Linked DNA regions of Homo sapiens: region 1 is linked to region 2. The links are contacts of gene promoters, found by promoter capture Hi-C in human tissues and cell types (Jung and others, 2019). All regions are on one chromosome and are shown on one strand. The core of a region is centred on a gene start or on the middle of the fragment in contact, and the rest is flanking DNA. Distances in the headings are between cores, read along the strand shown.

The links. Contacts are between HindIII fragments. The study calls those that stand out against the background at their distance.
Region 1: a contact is called between a fragment that was not itself captured here and the fragment with the promoter of OR9Q1 in region 2, in 1 of the 25 tissues and cell types used here (neural progenitor cells).

Annotation. Positions count from the first base shown.
Region 1 is chr11:57,975,529-57,979,039 of GRCh38, reverse strand. No RefSeq gene overlaps it. Among named protein-coding and RNA genes, the nearest start is that of OR9Q1, 47 kb to the left of the region's middle. RefSeq lists a silencer at 1-263. The HindIII fragment of the contact is 3,369 bases long and covers 1-3,025 here.
Region 2 is chr11:58,022,227-58,025,968 of GRCh38, reverse strand. OR9Q1 (olfactory receptor family 9 subfamily Q member 1) reads right to left here and starts at 2,088. Exons shown (of 3, transcript NM_001005212.4): 1 at 1,865-2,088. It overlaps LOC107984331 (a long non-coding RNA gene), which reads left to right and starts at 1,550. Exons shown (of 3, transcript XR_001748218.1): 1 at 1,550-1,882; 2 at 2,945-3,129. The HindIII fragment of the contact is 7,062 bases long and covers 1-3,742 here.

The DNA of each region.
Region 1 (3,511 bases), core at 92-2,591, 46 kb after region 2:
AGGACTGTTTTATTTTCCTAACATGAAACTTATCTCTTCTTTTGCATATTCTTCTTTTTCTGCTGCCTGGCGCTCCACTCAGCAAATGGTCAGTTAATGAGTACCTGCCATTCTTCCAAGCTATGGCGATATAGCAGTAAGCAAATATCCTTGCCCTTGTTGTGTGTACATTCTAGTGGACCATCTTGCAGTAAGAAGGAAAGCAAATAGAATCACAATCAGCCTCAGCTTTGACATTTCAAAGCACCTGAACCAAAGATGGGAACTTACTTGAGAAAAATAAAATCTCATTTAGTCATATTTTCAGTTACTTGCAACTGGACACAATTACTAAACATACTACTGCCTTTTTTGTTGGTGGGTGGGGGGTCGGGGGGACGGAGTCTTGCTCTTTGTCACTCAGGCTGGAGAGCAGTTGCACGATCTCAGCTCACTGCAACCTCGGCCTCCCAGGTTCAAGCAATCCACCTGCCTCAGCCTCCTGAGTAGCTGGGATTACAGGCACCCACCACCATGCCCAGCTAATTTTTGTATTATTAGTAGAGATGGGGTTTCACCATGTTCGCCGGGCTGGTCTTGAGCTCCTTACCTTAAGCGATCCACCTGCCTCAGCCTCCCAAAGTGCTGGGAATACAGGTGTGAGCCACTGCACGCAGCTGCCTTTCTTTCTTTAACTACAGGTAAGTTCCTTTATAGTTAAGATATCTGGAAGACACCTTGATGGAATAAAATGGTTTCTCAACCTCAACACTCTTGACATTTTGAACCAGATAATTCTTTGTTGTGGAGCTGTCCTAGGCACTGTAAGATGTTTGGCTGCATTCCTGACATCTACCAACCAGATGCCAGTAGCCGCATCCCCCTCCCAAGATATGACAATCAGAATGTCTCTAGACATTGTCAAGTGTTCCCTGAAAGCCAGATTTTCCCTGGTTGAGAACCACTCGCATATGGATGGTGGTGCTGGCAGAGCTAAGGCAAGCAACAAAAGCCAACCCAAACCCAGAGTATTTGGAAACAAAGCATTACTTCCTCCATCGTGGAAAGAATCCAATACAGCTAATCTACCTCTGGGGAGCTGGCTGCCCTTCCCCCCACCCTCCAGTTATCACAGCATTCCAAGAGCTCAGGGCCACTTGGCCACTGCTGCCAACAGTCCCTGCACTCCACCACAGCAGGTCAGACTTGGTGAGAGGAAAAGGGTTGTTGAGTACAGGCACAGCCTCCCTTCCTGCCACCACACTCACTTTGTGAGCACTGAGGTATCTGGGATACCCCAATTTTTGTGAGCATTGGGATATCTGGGAAAGGAGTCTAACATCTCACAGAGTGGGCCATCCATCCTACTTACGTAGTCACAAAGGCCCCCTCTGTATCAAGGCCTTGTGGCAAGCATTCATGTGGGCCACAAATAGCTCCTCACTTCACATTTACCTGAGAGGTCAGTTCACAGACACCTTCACAGGCCTCCTCAGCCATTTCCCAGTCTTGCTTCTTCCAAACCCTTAACCATCAGAGCGTGTCTTTGTCTATTTGGGCTGCTATAAAAACCAAATACCTGAGACTGAGGGGCTCATAACAACAGAAATTTATTTCTTCCAATTCTGGAGATTGGGAAGTTCAAGATCAGGTGCCAGCACGGTCAGGTTCTGGTGAGGGCCTGCCCCTGGATTGCAGACTGCCAGCTTCTTGCTGTGTCCTCACATGGTGGAAGGGACAAGGCAGCTCTCTGGGGTCTCTTTTATTATAAGGGCATTAATCTCACTCATGAGGACTTCACCCTTGTGACCTAACTACCTCTAAAAGGCCCCACCTTCTAATACCACCACCTTGGGGGTTAGGATTTCAGCATGTGGATTTGCAGGAGACACAAATATTCAGACCAGAGTACAGCCCAATTGCAAGTCAGGGGTTATTTCCTTTTTTTTTTTTTTTTTTAAAAAAAAGAAAAAAGTTCTTTGCTGAAAGAGGTGACTTTCCTCCAAAATCCTAGCAAGCCAATTTGTCCCATGCAGCTTACAAAATTTGCTGGGTCTTAAGAGCCTAGCTGCAGAGCCAATCAACTTAAAAGCTTTTACCCCCTGGAGATGCTTTCCCCTGGCCCAGCTCTCATCAAACCTGGTGGCTTTTCAGATCACCCAGTAAATAGGTCAAATAGGTGTTAAATGTTATTCATAGTGATTTACTAGGAACTACATCAGGATGAGTAGTGTGGTGTGTGTGAAAGTTAATTTTATTCAGCCTCTTAGGGCTAGCTGATTGGCATAAAGAATATTAGAAATAACTTTCACTAGAGAAATTAAAGTTTAAGACACGGTTTACTTCGAAACCACCAATGTGATGATTGATGCAGGTTAGGATTATCAATGGGTGCTAAATCAGTCTCAGAGTATCACCCCACAGGTCGCTTTTTAATAACAAAGAGAAAAAGATACCTAATGGAAATAAAATCTGGCAGACATCAACTTAATTATGTAAACAAATTAATACCACCAGTAATGGGGAAAAAATGACATTTTGTGTCTCCTACATGAGAAGAACACATTATCTGTGTAGAGTTCTTGCCAAAAATATCTAGCCTAAATCTAATCATAGGGAAAAATTCGAGAAGTTTAAATTATAGAGCATTATGCAAAAACACTGGTCTGGACTCTTCAGAACTTTCAGTATTCCAAAATAAAAGTTTTAAAAATCTAGATTAAAATTAAATTTAAAAACTAATGGACACGATAACTAAATGCAATGAATAATCCCTGATTGGACCTTAGATTCAAAATAAATAGATATATTATTTTATTATTAAAACAATTGGGAAAATTTGAATTTGAGTATAGACTGCATATTAAATTTCTTAAACATGATCATGTAATTGTGGTTATGTAAGAGAATGGCCTTCTTCTTAGCAGCTAGTATTTAAGGTGAAGTGTTTAAGGGTAAAGCATCATAATGTTCCAACTACTTTCAAGTAGTTTGGAAAAAGATACATAAGCATAAACTCACATGTTCATCAACAGATGAATGGATAAAGAAAACGTGGTATATGCATTAAAATGGAGTATTACGCAGCCTTTAAAAAGAAGGAAATCCCTGTCACATTCAACATGCATAAACCTTGAGGACATTATGCTAAGTTATATAAGCTAGTCACAAAAGCACAAATACAGCACTTTTCCACTCACATGAGATATCTAAAGTAGTCAAAATTATAAAAACAGAAAGTAAGAAAGTGGTTGCCAAGGACGGGGAGAGTGGAGAAGGAGAATTAGTTTGTTTCTGGCCATCAAGTTTCAGTTTTGCAAAATGAAAAAGTTCTAGAGATCTGTTGCACAACAATGTGAATATACTTCACACTATTGAACTGGACACAAAAATAGTTAAGATAGTAAATTTAATGTGATACGTTTATAACCACAATTAAAAATAAAATAAAAATTTAAAAATATAGACCCATATATGTTCATGACTTATGTATGTGTGTAGGTAAATATATGTATATATTATTTCTTAGAAA
Region 2 (3,742 bases), core at 839-3,338:
ACACTGAGGGTGGGGGACGGTGGAAAGAAGGCAATCCTTAACTGACAAAACCAAGTGCAGTAGAGGGAGGGGGAGGCACCCCAGCAAGCCAGGGGAGAGACAGGTGGAAGTAGGTAATATGCCCAGAGGAATTGTTAGAAGAGGTTGTGAGGTCCACGGAGAGAGTCAGGAGAGCACAGTGGTTAAGGCTACATTCAGGCATTAGACCACCTGATGCCTTCAAATCTCAGCTCCACCACCTTCTAACTGAAATCAAATGAAAGCAACCTAGATGGGAGGCAATGCCTAACCCAACGGAATGAATATCTGATGGAATCATTGAAGTCATCAGAGACAAGTCTAATGAGAAACTCTTTCTGAGCGAGAGTTCCAGAGCATCCAAATTCTACTCCTCTTCCCCCCTGCCCCAACACGTCTTCGGGTCATGTGTTGGTAGGAAGATGAGCTTCTCTCCAAAAAGGGAGAAAGGAGGCCGGGCGCAGTGGCTCACGCCTGCAATCCCAACACCTTGGGAGGCTGAGCGGGCGGATCACAAGGTCAAGAAATCAAGACCATCCTGGCCAACACGGTGAAACCCCGTCTCTACCAAAAATACAAAAAGTAGCTGGTCATGGTGGCGTGCGCCTGTAGGACACACCCTATAGTAGCACGGCGGGCACCCCAGCTACTCAGGAGGCTGAGGCAGGAGAATCTCTTGAACCCGGGAGGCGGAGGTTGCAGTGAGCTGAGATCGCGCCACTGCACTCCAGCCTGGCGACAGGGCAAGACTCCGTCTCAAAAAGAAAGGGTCATTTACGGAGCCCCTCCCATGGGCTAGATTCTGATGGGCTGATACCATCTGGCTTAATCCCCACAATATTGTACTATGATCCTATGAACTATTCTTGATATAGAGGTGTTATTTGTCTTGGTTTTCACGCAATTGAAATCACTGAAGGCTCAGAGAGACAGTAAGTAAACTTGGGCAAGATCAAAGAACTACATGGCACAGAGAAGAGCCAAACCCCAGAGCTTCTGACAAAAAAAGCCTCCACACCGTGCCATTTTCCTCTGCCATCTCATTTCACCCAATGACAACGTGCCTGCAACCCTGGCTCCCTGCCCTGACTCTGAGGTTAATTTCCCTGCAGCTCGGAGCCCCGCCAAGGCTGGAGGAATATCCCACAGGCTCCAGTGAGCTGCAAAGCACAGTCACACTCCCAGGGCTATTAACAGCATCCGCTTCCTCTCCAAGGTTCAGGGAACTTTATCCACCAAGTGCCATGCAGGAAAAAAGAGGTCAGCCAGAGAGGAGAGGGTCACACGGGGCAATCACTAAATAAGGAGAAAGGCCGCACAGGAACTTGGCCCAATTTGGTGTCCTCAAAAGACGGTGCTCCCTGGCCAAGATTTTCCCTAACAAATATGGAAAAACAGTTTGAGGCCCATGCACGAAAATTGAAACTTGGTTCCTGTAGCTATTTGCTTGTGTAGCTACGTGACAAGCCTGGTGAGAAACGCTGGATTTCTCCCTCTTTCAGTTCTCTCCACCTGGCATCTGGGGGCCTAGTCCCAAAAAGTGAAAGGAACTGGAAAATAAACTTACTAAGATCCAGGAAATGATTTCAAAAAAAAACAGCCAACAAACCGAGGTGAGCAGGCGCAGTGGGTGGGTGTTATGAGACAGACAGCGGGGCTAGGAGATGCCCAGGATGAAGCCCGGAGACCTGCTCTCTGATTCCTCTTGGGTCTAGCTCATCACAGCCTGCTTCCCCACTCCCACTGCAACGTGACAGCAACAGCACATCTCACTTTCCAACATGCAGACAGCCCCCTGTGTTAACAGCACCGTCTCTGAAATCAGTGGAGCTGCATTTGACCCTACCTCCGTCAGGCCGTAGCTGTGAGTTTGGGAAAGGCGTTTGATCTTTCTGAGCCTCAGTGTCTTCATCTTCAAACGGGAAGGATAACATGTACATTGCTGGGCTGGACTAAAGATGGAAGGAGACATCATTAAGGGAAAGTTAGGGCCTTTGCTCCTTTCGCTCCCTCTACCATCTCTGTGTGGCATCCTCCTGCACTTCTTCAATTCCCTGCACAAGGGCCACCTTAACAGAGAGGCCCTTTCTGACCACCTATCTGAAAACGCAGTTCCTTTCACTCTCTGACCCTCTTCTCAGTTTGATTTTTTGGGTCACAGCTTCATTGCCATCTGGTAGATATTTATTTGTTTGTCTATAACATCACGCACACACACACACACACACACACAAAAGGAAGCTCCTTGAAGATAGTGCCTTTGTTTGTTTGTTCATTACTGTGTTGCTAATGCCAAAGTCACTGACATGTAGTCTACATGCAATAAATATATACTGATGTAATAAAAGGGTGGCTGCATGCTCCTGATTGTACGTTGGCAGCGTACTTAGTTTCCTTTCCATTTCTAGCTACCTGTTTTTAAGGAAATTTAAGGAAAAGGAAGTTCAACAATACTTACAGAAAAGTCAATCAATTTGGGTGTTGTCCATGCAATTACTGTCAACGGACTACAAGACTGACAATGCCTGCAGGAATGATGTCTTGTATATCTGGAGCAGCCTGCTCTCATGGCCTTGGGTGGGAGGCAAATTGAATTGATTTCTACATATAATTTCTTTTTCTTAGCTACAGAATTTAATTCTAAATTTCCCGGAAAGCTGTACTCTATCAGCTGTTTTCAAACTCTGTTCCACCAAGCCCTAGGTTTGCTTAGTTGCCAGGTAGCTGGGAAGAGGAAAGGACCTAGTATGTGGGGCTCTCAAAATCCCTGCTTCAACCAGCTAGTAAGTGACAGAGTCCAGATGAGAATCCAGCCCAGTCTGACTCCAGAGCCCACCATCTTTCCATCATACCACCTCCCCAGGGAGGGTGATATTCCTAAAATAAAATCTGATCAATTAACTGGGCGCTTCTCTCATTATTCCAGGACTTCAATACTGAGCAGATACAATCTGTTCCTCAAAGCTACTGACATATAGTCTGCCTATGATGGGAACAAATGGGAAACTGAGGTATAAGAAAATAAGTGGGAGGCTTCTCCAGCCATATATGTGACAGAGACCCCAGACCCAAACCAAGCCAGAGAGTCCACTATAGCAGACAGGAACCAAGGTGAGAATCAAGCTTTCTGAGCTTCTAGCTCTTAATCTCTAGGCAGCAATAATATCTATTCTTGTTGTCTCTCAGAACATTCTGTGAATTGATGAGATAGTGGATGTGCGGGTTCTTTGAAACTTTAAAGGTACACTCTGGTAAAACCTGCTTACTCTTTTGCTTCTATTGCTTATGGACTATGCGATGACCACAGAATTTCAATAAAGGGACAGCATGGGAATGGCCATCTGGTGGGACTCTGGGAATGGTCATGAAGCTGCCCTGGAATAACAAAAGCAAATTGATTTTGTTTAGATTGTAGGTTTGAGGTGGCTTGAGGAGGCAGATGGAGATGAAGGAGAACTAAAACCCCACAAAGTCCCTCGGCACCCCTACTCTATAAGAGCTTAAGCAAATCAGTTGAATTCTGTGTGCCTCCATTTTCTCACTTGAAAACTGAATTGATATTTAAAACCACAATGACTCTGTAAAAGAGCTTTTGGGCCGGGTGTGGTGGCTCATACCTGTAACCCCAGCACTTTGGGAGGCCGAGGTGGGTGGATCACTTGAGGTCAGGAGTTCGAGACCAGCCTGGCCAACATGGTGAAACCCTGTCTCTACTAAAAATACC